Regions from separate parts of the Homo sapiens genome. Here regions 2 and 3 are each linked to region 1. Evidence: promoter capture Hi-C in human tissues and cell types (Jung and others, 2019). All regions are on one chromosome and are shown on one strand. The core of a region is centred on a gene start or on the middle of the fragment in contact, and the rest is flanking DNA. Distances in the headings are between cores, read along the strand shown.

Region 1 (3,120 bases), core at 216-2,715:
GGAGGAGCAAGGATTGGCCTAAAAGGTTTGTAGCCTGGTCAAAATACAGAAAGGCTTGGATCTGCAGAAGGATCTGGAGTGGGATCCACAAAGTGCCTTGCACCTCACTCCCTCACCCCCTCACCCAACCTCAAGAGCCACCGAAAAAAAAGTAGTGGGGTGTCAGGTGGGGCAACAGTGACTTGCTCAGACAGCTTCCTTGTGGCTGAGAGCAAGCGCCTGTCCCCACGGAGCTGCACTGCTGTGACTTGTGTCCATGGTGAAGCCTGTTATGTAGACGCACACGCACCCTCTTACCTCTGCTCTTCAAGAGGAAGCACTCAAGGGCTGCCCGCCTCAGACAGGGATAGGGAAGCGCTCTGTCTGGTGCTTAGAGGTGTCTCTTGTCTCCGCATACCACCCTAGAGGGGCTCTCGGTCCATCATAGAGCCGGGCCGAGAGCCGGGCGGTCACCCTCCGCTACTGCCGCCACCGTCGCCTGCACTGCCGGGTAGAAACGGGTCTGGCACCCAAGCCTCCCTCCCCGACTAGGTGTCAACCCAAGAGAAGGCGAAGGAGAACGAAAGTTCAGGACCAAGGACAGCGGCAACCGTGGGAGCGGGAGAATCCAGCCAGAATCTGCCTCTCCCCCATCCTTAGCTTCTGCCTTAGAAACTGAAAAGGGTCAGGTCGCACCAACACAGAGTTGCCAAAAACAGCCCTTCTTCCTCCGGAAGAAGTCGGAAACTCTGGCCGCGAGCCCCGGGTCTCGCGCTTGGGTGCTGGGGGAAGTGCCCTCCCGAGATTGTGGGGAGCGGCCTCCCTCCCGCCCTCCGATGCCGCGGCTCCGCCGTGCTGCCCTGGGCGCCCCGCGGGGAGGCTGCCCCAGCTGCGCCCGCTCGTGCTCGGGGAGAGGATTCCCTTCTAAGTGGCGAGGAGGCTACTGAGAAGGAGGGAGAGGGGATAGCAGCCGCGGGCTCCAGACGCCCTCTGCCCCCGCCCGACGGGGAGCCCATGCAGAGCCGGATCCCAGGCGGGCGCTCCCGAGCAGGCGGCCAGGAGTGGCCGCACAAACTTCTGGTCCTGGCCTCGCTCCCCTTGGAGGTCCCTCCTCCTCTCCCCGTGACACTGAGTCGCCCGCCGCTCCATCCGGCCGGTGCTTACCTTCAAGCCATAGGGCGCCCGGGGGCAGAGACGGCGCCGGCTGCTTGAGGCTTCCAGCTCCCGCCGCATCCACGCGCGGCCGCCCCTCCGGCAGCCGTCCGGGGCCGCCACTCTCCTCGGCCGGTCCCTGGCTCCCGGCCCCGCCGCGCCGTTCAGAGCCCCGGCGGGCAGCAGCTCGGCCGGCTCTGGCCCGCGGGGAGCAGTGGACGGGCCGCGGCGGGGCGGGGCGGGGCGGGGCCGGGCGCGGGGCGGGCGGGCAGGAGGGAGCGCGGGGACGGGGCGGAGGCGGCGCGGTGCGCGCGTGAGGCTGCCGGTTCGGCACTGAAGCTGGACAGCTCTGCGGCGCCCGAGCGCGGGGAGCGCGGGAGGGAGGTGCCCCGGTCCCCGCCCCTGAGACAGGCCCCGCCCCCGCCCCCCACCAAAGGAGCTGTACCTCCTCGGCGATCCCCGGCCTGAACGGGTAGGAGGGGTTGGGGGATTCCGCCATCCCTTGTTTTGAGGCGGGAACGCAACCCTCGACCGCCCACTGCGCTCCCACCCACACCCAGAGTAATAAGCTGTGATTGCAGGCTGGGTCCTCACCGTCTGCTCGCCAGTCTTCTCCTTTGAGGACTCAGAAGCCAAGGGTTGCGGGAGGCACCACCCATCCAGCAAGTCAGGCAAGGAGAGGAGGTGTTGGAAGAGGTCCGCATCCGTTTTCTGACTTCAGGTCTTGGAATCTATGTAGTCAGTTCTATTGCTGGACTCATCCAAAGGAAAAAGCCTGTTTGGAGTTGACCTGACATGGAAATGCAAAAGGAGGCCTCAGGGGTTCCAGCTCACCCTTGACTCCAAACTGAGGTGTGTGAGGCAGGGAGTGGGGAGAGGGAGAAAGAGATAGAGTGGTGAAGGGTGTTCCGCTGCTACCCTGCCCACTGTCATTTGGGCTGCAGAGGAACCTCGTTCTTCTCCCCTTTTCTTCCTCTCTCCTTTTCTTTCTTTTCTTTTCTTTTCTTTCTTTCTTTCTTTCTTTCTTTCTTTCTTTCTTTCTTTCTTTCTTTCTTTCTCTTTCTTTCTTTCCTTTCTTTCTTTCTTTCTTCCTTCCTTTCTTTTTCTTTCTTTCTCTTTCTTTTCTTTCTTCTGCAGCAATTAGTTACCAACTGTCCTCAGTTTGCCAGATTCTGTGTCAGATTCAGAAGTCACACACAGAAAGAAAACCAGGCCCCTGATCCCGCACCCTGGCAATCCAGAGAGGGGACCCCCAGGGAAATAACTGAGGCTTAAACAGGTGCTGTGAAGCACAAAAAAGCGAGACTTTACAGGAACCGGGCATTGAAGGAGCAACACCAGTTCCCAAGGGGAGAAGGTGGCACAACACTCCAGGGAGAGGGAAGAGCAGGGGCAGAGGACTGACTCTGCAGAGCAGGGAGTCGGCCCTGCATGGCTGGAATCCAGCCTCTCTGGGCCACAAGGATTAACTTCATCTCAGCATTTCCTCCAATGACACACACAATTATAGAAAGTGAGGGCTGGAAAGGACCTTAACATTCATCCAATTCCGCCTCACCTCAGAAGGGAGAACTGAGTCCCAGAGAGATGGAGTGTCCTTGCAAATCCCACAGAGTCCAGCACTGAACCGTCCCCCTCTCCAGAGGCACAAAACAGCACCTCTCTCAAATGCAGCCATCTCTGGAGGCACGGGAGCAGAGGAAGCTGTGGGCTCCCCACCTCACCCCACCATGACTCTTCCCAGCTCCTGCCCCTGGATCTTGCTGATCTGGACTGGCCTCCATTTGCCTGCAGGCTCTATAGGGAGATATTACACCAATAGGAGTCCTAGAATGTTGCCATAATTGCCTTTAAGGGATCAGCCATTACAGATATGGTTGACATCCCAGTGTTTCCCTTGTATACCCTTGGACCATTCTTTCCTAGGTTTAATCCACATAAGGAGATATTTGGTACCTCCCAACTCAGCACCTCTACATAGGTTCAGGG
Region 2 (3,120 bases), core at 248-2,747, 63 kb after region 1:
GATCAATTTAACTGGATCAATACTTGGGGTGAGGACCCTGGAGTCCTAGGCAGGGCTCTCACCTCCCCATAGATGAATTGCTGATCAGTTATAAATTGAATAAGGAGGGGCCGTTCATGTGTTGAAGAGCAGAGTCCAGATCCTGTTATACCTGCATCAGGTAAACCTGAGATCACAAAAGCAATGTCTTTTCTATAACATCTATGTTTCTCCAGGCTCCATAGTCACCCAGGCTGAAAGCATCTTCCTCTCATTCGTTCCTGGGACCAATTTGCTCACCAAATTCACTGGTTTTACCTCCTAAATATTTATCAGGTATTTCCTCTACTTTCAATCCCACCATCCCTGCGTAAATGTAAGCCCTTGTCATACTAGGTAATCATGGTCAGGGATTTGGAATCTGGTCAGAGAAAGCTGTGTTCAAATCTCAGTTTATGCTCATAGCTTATGCTGTGCAATCCTGGGCAAGTTATTAAACCTGTTGAAATTTCAGTTTCTTTGTATGTAATGTGGGCATAATAGTGACAGCTGCCTCAGAGGTTGATACAAGATTTATGAGATAATCCTTGCAAAGTATTTAGCACTGTACCTGGCACGGGATAAGTACTCAGTAAATATTGATTAATATTACTAGACAGTTGCGATAACCTCTCATCTGGTCTGTCTACCTCCAGCCCCACCTGCCTCCGTATTATCTGCCTACCATTAAAGGGAAGATAAAATCCACGATGATTCTTCCCAGAGCAAATGCCACCACAGGTACACAGATACGCACATGCACACACATACATGCATACAAACACATGCACACTCAGCATTGCCCCAGCTTAAAGACACAACTCTTTTGCCTGGTATACAGGGACCTTCTTAGCTTTTCTAAACTTGAAAATTAGCTGCTGGCTATTTCCATGGCACAGTATTTATTTCTGATCTCTGAGCTTTTGAGTAAGATGTTCCCTCTTCCTGATGTGCCCCTGCCCCTCTTGTCCTTCCAGTGACCTCCAACCCATGCATGAAAATCCAGGCAAGTGTCACCTCCTCTGGGAAGCCCACAGGTCCTCTCAGGGTGTACATGCTCTGCCCCTATTATGGACATCTCGGAGCCTCAGTGCCCTCACCTGCAAAACGGTACTTAAAACACCACTCCAGACAGTGTTGTATGAGGATTAAATGAGCTTAAAATTCATGACATTTCTGGAAGATTGGAATTCAACCAGAGTGCTGGGAAGAGCTCAGACTGTTTCATGTGATGGATGGTAGGTAGAGCTGGTATTGTTTACACAAAGGGAAGAGAGTGGGGACTTACAATGTGAGCCCCAGGAGGCAGGCACCAGATTCTATTCATTTTTGGACTCCCAAGCAAGGAGTGCTTTGCTCACAAAAGGCAACAATTGCTTGCTAAATTAAAGCCTGAATTAGAAAGTAAATAGATATCTCAGGCCACCTCTCCCTGCAATGAATGTGGGTGGTGTTTGGCCAGGAGTTATGCCACCATCACACATCTTTTCCTCCAAGTGAGAAAATCACTTTCTCAATGATTTTCCCTCATTCTGGCCAGGCAAAGATGATCACACCACCTTTATCTCTGGTTCCCAAAAGAGGAAAACAATGGGACTTGGAGGTTAGATGCCTCTCTAAGGTGGTCCAGCCTGTCACCAGCAGCCCCTGGCTTTCACTAAGGCTTACCCCGACTCGCTCACACTCTTCTTTCTGTGGACCCAGAGAGCTGTGTGGACAAGCAAGAGAAGCAGGCTCATTGCTTGTGACAGCAGAGGGGGCACAGAAGCAGCCTGGGCCATCCCAGACAGACCAGACCAGCCTCTCTCCCTCATGCCTATGGGACATTTCATAGCTGTCACCGCCCCAGGGCTTCCATCATGACCAAAGCAAAGAACCCTTTTCACCTCAGTAGCTTTGAAAAGCAGCGTCGCTAAGGCTGCCAACAGGGATTCAGCCCTGGAGATTTCTTGGAGTTGGTTTCATGGATCCAGCAAACCCTGCATCTGCTCACAGTTAAACTCACAGTTGGGTCAATGCATGCATTGCCTATAGCCCTCACTCATTAAGCTAACCTGGGCATCTCCTTTTTCTCTCTTTGGAAGCATCTCCCCAGCTCCCTATAGTTTTCAGACCGCACGAACCAGAAAATACATCATAGCAAGGCTGAAAAGGGAGACACTTGGTTAAGATCACCCAAAGTCAGCCCCAAACCCAGGCCCTGACACTCAGCCTAATGTCCTCGCCCTGCCCCACACTACCTGCCTGGATTGGCACTTGTAGTGCCCACCCCCTGAGGATAGGCTGAAACTCAGGCTTGTTTTTGAAAGTCCTGAAACCTCTACTAGCCAGGTCAGGAGCTCAGCAGGTGCCAGGGCTGCAAGTTTTAATCATGATAACTACATCTCTCTTTCCCTCCCTTTTTGCCAGGTCCTGTACATTGACTATCTCTTTGGACTCCACAAAACTTTAGGAGGCTGGTGTTATCATCTCCATCTTACAGATAAGGAAAGAAAAATTCAAAAAAGTTATGTAGCATGCCCAAGATTCCGCCTGGAAAGTGGACATCTTTCATTTCAGGGCTGTGGATGTGGCTGGGTCAGGCACTGCTTATAGTAGGAGGGGAAGAAGTCAGATTTCATCCAAATGACAAGAAGAAAACATCATCCACAAGCCCAGCTAGTGAATATGCTGCAGGCAGGGAGAAAAGAGGATCCGGAGTCAAAGACATCTCCAGGAGAAACAATGTCTGCTGCTCAGAGGAGAACAGCTGGAAGCCCAAGGCCTACTTCTATAAGGCTACTATGCCCACAGCAAAAGCATGGGTCAACCCAAGAGATCTAGGACGGCTGCAGAGAGATACACACGTCACCATGAGGCCAGAATGCACATCTTGGGTCTTCACCCAGAGGAGAAGCAGAGAAGCAGGGCCTGACAGGGCCTGAATATCCCTCTGAACCTGGTGATGAGGAGGGGCAGCTGTTCTCACATCCCACCCAAGCAGGGCCAACCAAGACCAGTGTCAGCCAAGATGCCCATGAGGCTTTAAGTCATCTTAGGATACAAATGAGATCAGCTAGTCAGCTTTTGAAATCTGTGGAGTTTTCCTTCTTTGCCTCTTAA
Region 3 (3,120 bases), core at 366-2,865, 39 kb after region 1:
AGCCAAGAGAAGCTTCCTTACACACACACAAGGACACCACCTTGGGGAGAGGTTTCTGACTTTCGAGACCCTGAGGGAAGGGTCTCCTCCCACTAGAAACTGTACTGGAAAGTGAGAGAGAAAAAGTGAGCAACACGATTACTGTACCCACCAGCAACCAGATGCCGGATGCAGTGAAGCCTAGGAGCCTTAATTGGGGATTAGAGGCAGAACTTTATCCACGCACTGCTTTGGTGGCCTCATTAAAAGCTGGAAAATTCTCCATGCAGGTGCAGTGACATTTTGTGAAGTGACCTGGAGGCTGGCTAAGCCCTAGGGAGCATCCTGCCCAGGTCGGACACTGTGATAGCCTGCCCTTTCTCCTGCCCAGTGTGACAGGAGTTTACCCTTCCCATCTTCACCTCCTGCAGCACCTGCCATGAGTGACAGAGTGAAGACAGACTCACAAAAAGACTTGTGCCCATTTGGGGCCAGGTGATGATGCCAGGCAATCCTGGTGTCCCCATATCTCTTGTCTGCCCAGGGGCCACTTGGGCTGAATTTCCATCCTAAGTTTAGTAAAACCTCTTTAAAACTCAAAACCTAAAGGTTTATCTTGAAAATGCAAGGGATAATGACCCCTCAAGCTCTATTTCTCATGATGCAGGTGGTAAAATCCATCACCTTCTTTGATTGTCATACTGATCCTTAAGTGAGGCAAGACAGGAGATATTGTTCAGATTTTGCAGAGGTAGAAATTGAAGCTTGAAGATGGGGAAGTTCCAGGGTTGAGACCTGAGACCAGGTCTTCTGATGCTCTTATTCTGAAGCCTTTCAAGGAAGGACAACTGGTCCTCATCTGTTGGCTGGAGCTGGAAGGAGTGACCTTTGGCAGGTCCTGTTGACCAGGTGTCCAATGGCCTTTACCTCTGGACAGGGCAGCATCTCCTCCAGTCCTCCTGGTCCTAGGAGATTAACCGATCAGCAAATAATCATGGATTGAAACATAATTTGCTGAAGGTATCATGGAAGTTACAAAGAAGGATGATTCCTGCTCTGACTTACGGAGCTCATGGCCTAAATGGGGAGCCAAGACCGACAGACATTTATGATGAGTAGCGATAGTATCACATTCAGTTTATCTGAGAGTTTGTCCAATGTCAAAGCACGTTATTACTTGGGATTATAATCTCCTCTGTATCTGTCTGTATGTAAAGTATTTGGCTTGATATGCCCTGGAAAGCAAAAATGTGAAGCTTTTATTATTATTATTACTTAGATTATTTTTCACTGGACTGCACACTACTTGAGGGTGAAGCTATGTTTTCTTCATCATTGTGGCCTCTGCACATCATTTTGCGTGTTTTGAAGGAAATACAGAATTAATGTTTGCAAATGTTGAATGAATGAAGGTCATTTAAACTTCACAAGAAGTCTGTGGAGTGATTTTTTTTCCTGTAAAGACAAGGAATCTGAGACACAAGTAGGGAAAGTGATACGCAGTTAGTGACAGAGCTCCTGGGGCAAGAAGACATCCTATGCCAAGTGTAAAAGGAAGACATGGGAATTCTGCACTGGGAAGGTCAGGGAAGACTTCATGGAGGAGGTGTCACTTTTATAGGCTCTTTCATGAGTGAGTTTCAGAAAGGCATAAAAGAAAGAGGTATCAATGAGGGGGAACTGCATGAACAAACTCCTGAAGAGGCAGGAATGCACCGCACAGAGAAGGTTCAGTGACAAAGGGTCCAACCAGGTAGACAGGGACCAGGTCTGGGAGGGCCTTGAACATCAAGCTGAAGGTTGAGGCTAGGACTGGGGCACTACCTGGACCACTGTCCACCTGAGGACACCAACTTTGGGCCTACATCCATCCAATGTGGGGGCTCTGTGTCAGTGCTAGTGAGTGTCAGATCCGGGAAGCATGGGAGCACTTTCACCCAGGACAGGACAGGGCCGTGTGCTGGGCAAGGTGAGTCATTCATCATCACCAGGAAAAGGTGAGCAATCTGCCCAGGCTCTAATGAGAAAGATTGGAGCCCACAAGCACATGTTTATTACTGAAGGTGCCACATTAATTATGGACTCTGAAAGGGGAGGGAGAAGTCATGGGCTCACACTGGGAAGCAGAGGACTGCCATCCATCTGGAAGAAGTGGCCAGAGTGATGTGCATGCTACTCTGAGCCTGGCCCAGATATTGCTCAGTGCCCTGAGAAATATCCACACAGCTCGCATTCATTCATTTGCTCAGCAAATATTCCTTAAACACCAACTGGTCACAAGGCACCTGTGTAAAGGCCTGGGCTCGGTGCCCTGGAGGACCTCAGAATCCAGTGACTGTTGGAGACAGATGCACAATCAGATATTTGGGATAAAGTCTGCTGGGATGGAGTCGAAGTGTGGGCACATCACCTGGCCTGGAGGTGACCAGGATGGGTAGGAGTTAGCTACAGCACCCTTGTAAGGCACTTAAGGGGCTGATTCTTCAGCCTGTCAGCAATGAGAGCCACTGAAAGAATGGAGAGGGATGTCACATGGTCAGATATGCTCTATTGCACTGCACATCACCCCTGGCCACCCCTGCCTCCTGATGGGGCCTTCTCTCTTCTCTCCTTCCACCTTGCCTGTCCTGGACTCCATCTCTTCAGGGACAAGGGGTGCCAGAGTGCTATGCTATGGGGCTTCTGGAATTGGTTTGTCCACACCTGGGCATATGTTTGAGGGCAGGACGACCACAGGTGGGATTCATACCACATGGACTAAGTGCTCATTTTGTTGCCTCCATCCAGCCCCAAAGGGCTACGGAGGCTCCCCTTGGCCTAAGGTATAAGGCAGCTATAACAGACCAAGAGCCATCATGGGACCTTAGGATCAGAATGAGGGGGCTGGAGCCTCCTAGAGACCACCTGGTGAGAAATAGTGCAACAGCACTGAGCAGGACTCTGAAAGACCCCAGGTCCCCAGCACAGGAGCTCTGTCATCCTGATTCACCTCTCAGGCCTTAGCAAGCTCTCTTCTCTCTACCTGGTCCTCTTCTCCACTCTGCCCTCCCTCCTGCTCTCTCTTCTCATTTCCACTGCCCATTCACCTGGGCAAGGTAATCATTCCTCTTCCCCAAATCCTTGGAAACCAGAGCCCTGATC

What was found. Contacts are between HindIII fragments. The study calls those that stand out against the background at their distance.
Region 2: a fragment that was not itself captured here is called in contact with the fragment with the promoter of DRD2 in region 1 in 1 of the 25 tissues and cell types used here (bladder).
Region 3: a contact is called between a fragment that was not itself captured here and the fragment with the promoter of DRD2 in region 1, in 6 of the 25 tissues and cell types used here (H1 embryonic stem cells, aorta, bladder and 3 more).

Annotation. Positions count from the first base shown.
Region 1 is chr11:113,473,933-113,477,052 of GRCh38, forward strand. DRD2 (dopamine receptor D2) reads right to left here and starts at 1,466. Exons shown (of 8, transcript NM_000795.4): 1 at 1,144-1,466. It overlaps LOC105369501 (a long non-coding RNA gene), which reads right to left. Exons shown (of 6, transcript XR_948024.2): 6 at 1,597-1,921. The HindIII fragment of the contact is 27,627 bases long and covers 1-3,120 here.
Region 2 is chr11:113,537,331-113,540,450 of GRCh38, forward strand. No RefSeq gene overlaps it. Among named protein-coding and RNA genes, the nearest start is that of DRD2, 63 kb to the left of the region's middle. RefSeq lists an enhancer at 3,036-3,120. The HindIII fragment of the contact is 8,667 bases long and covers 1-3,120 here.
Region 3 is chr11:113,513,118-113,516,237 of GRCh38, forward strand. No RefSeq gene overlaps it. Among named protein-coding and RNA genes, the nearest start is that of DRD2, 39 kb to the left of the region's middle. The HindIII fragment of the contact is 5,554 bases long and covers 1-3,120 here.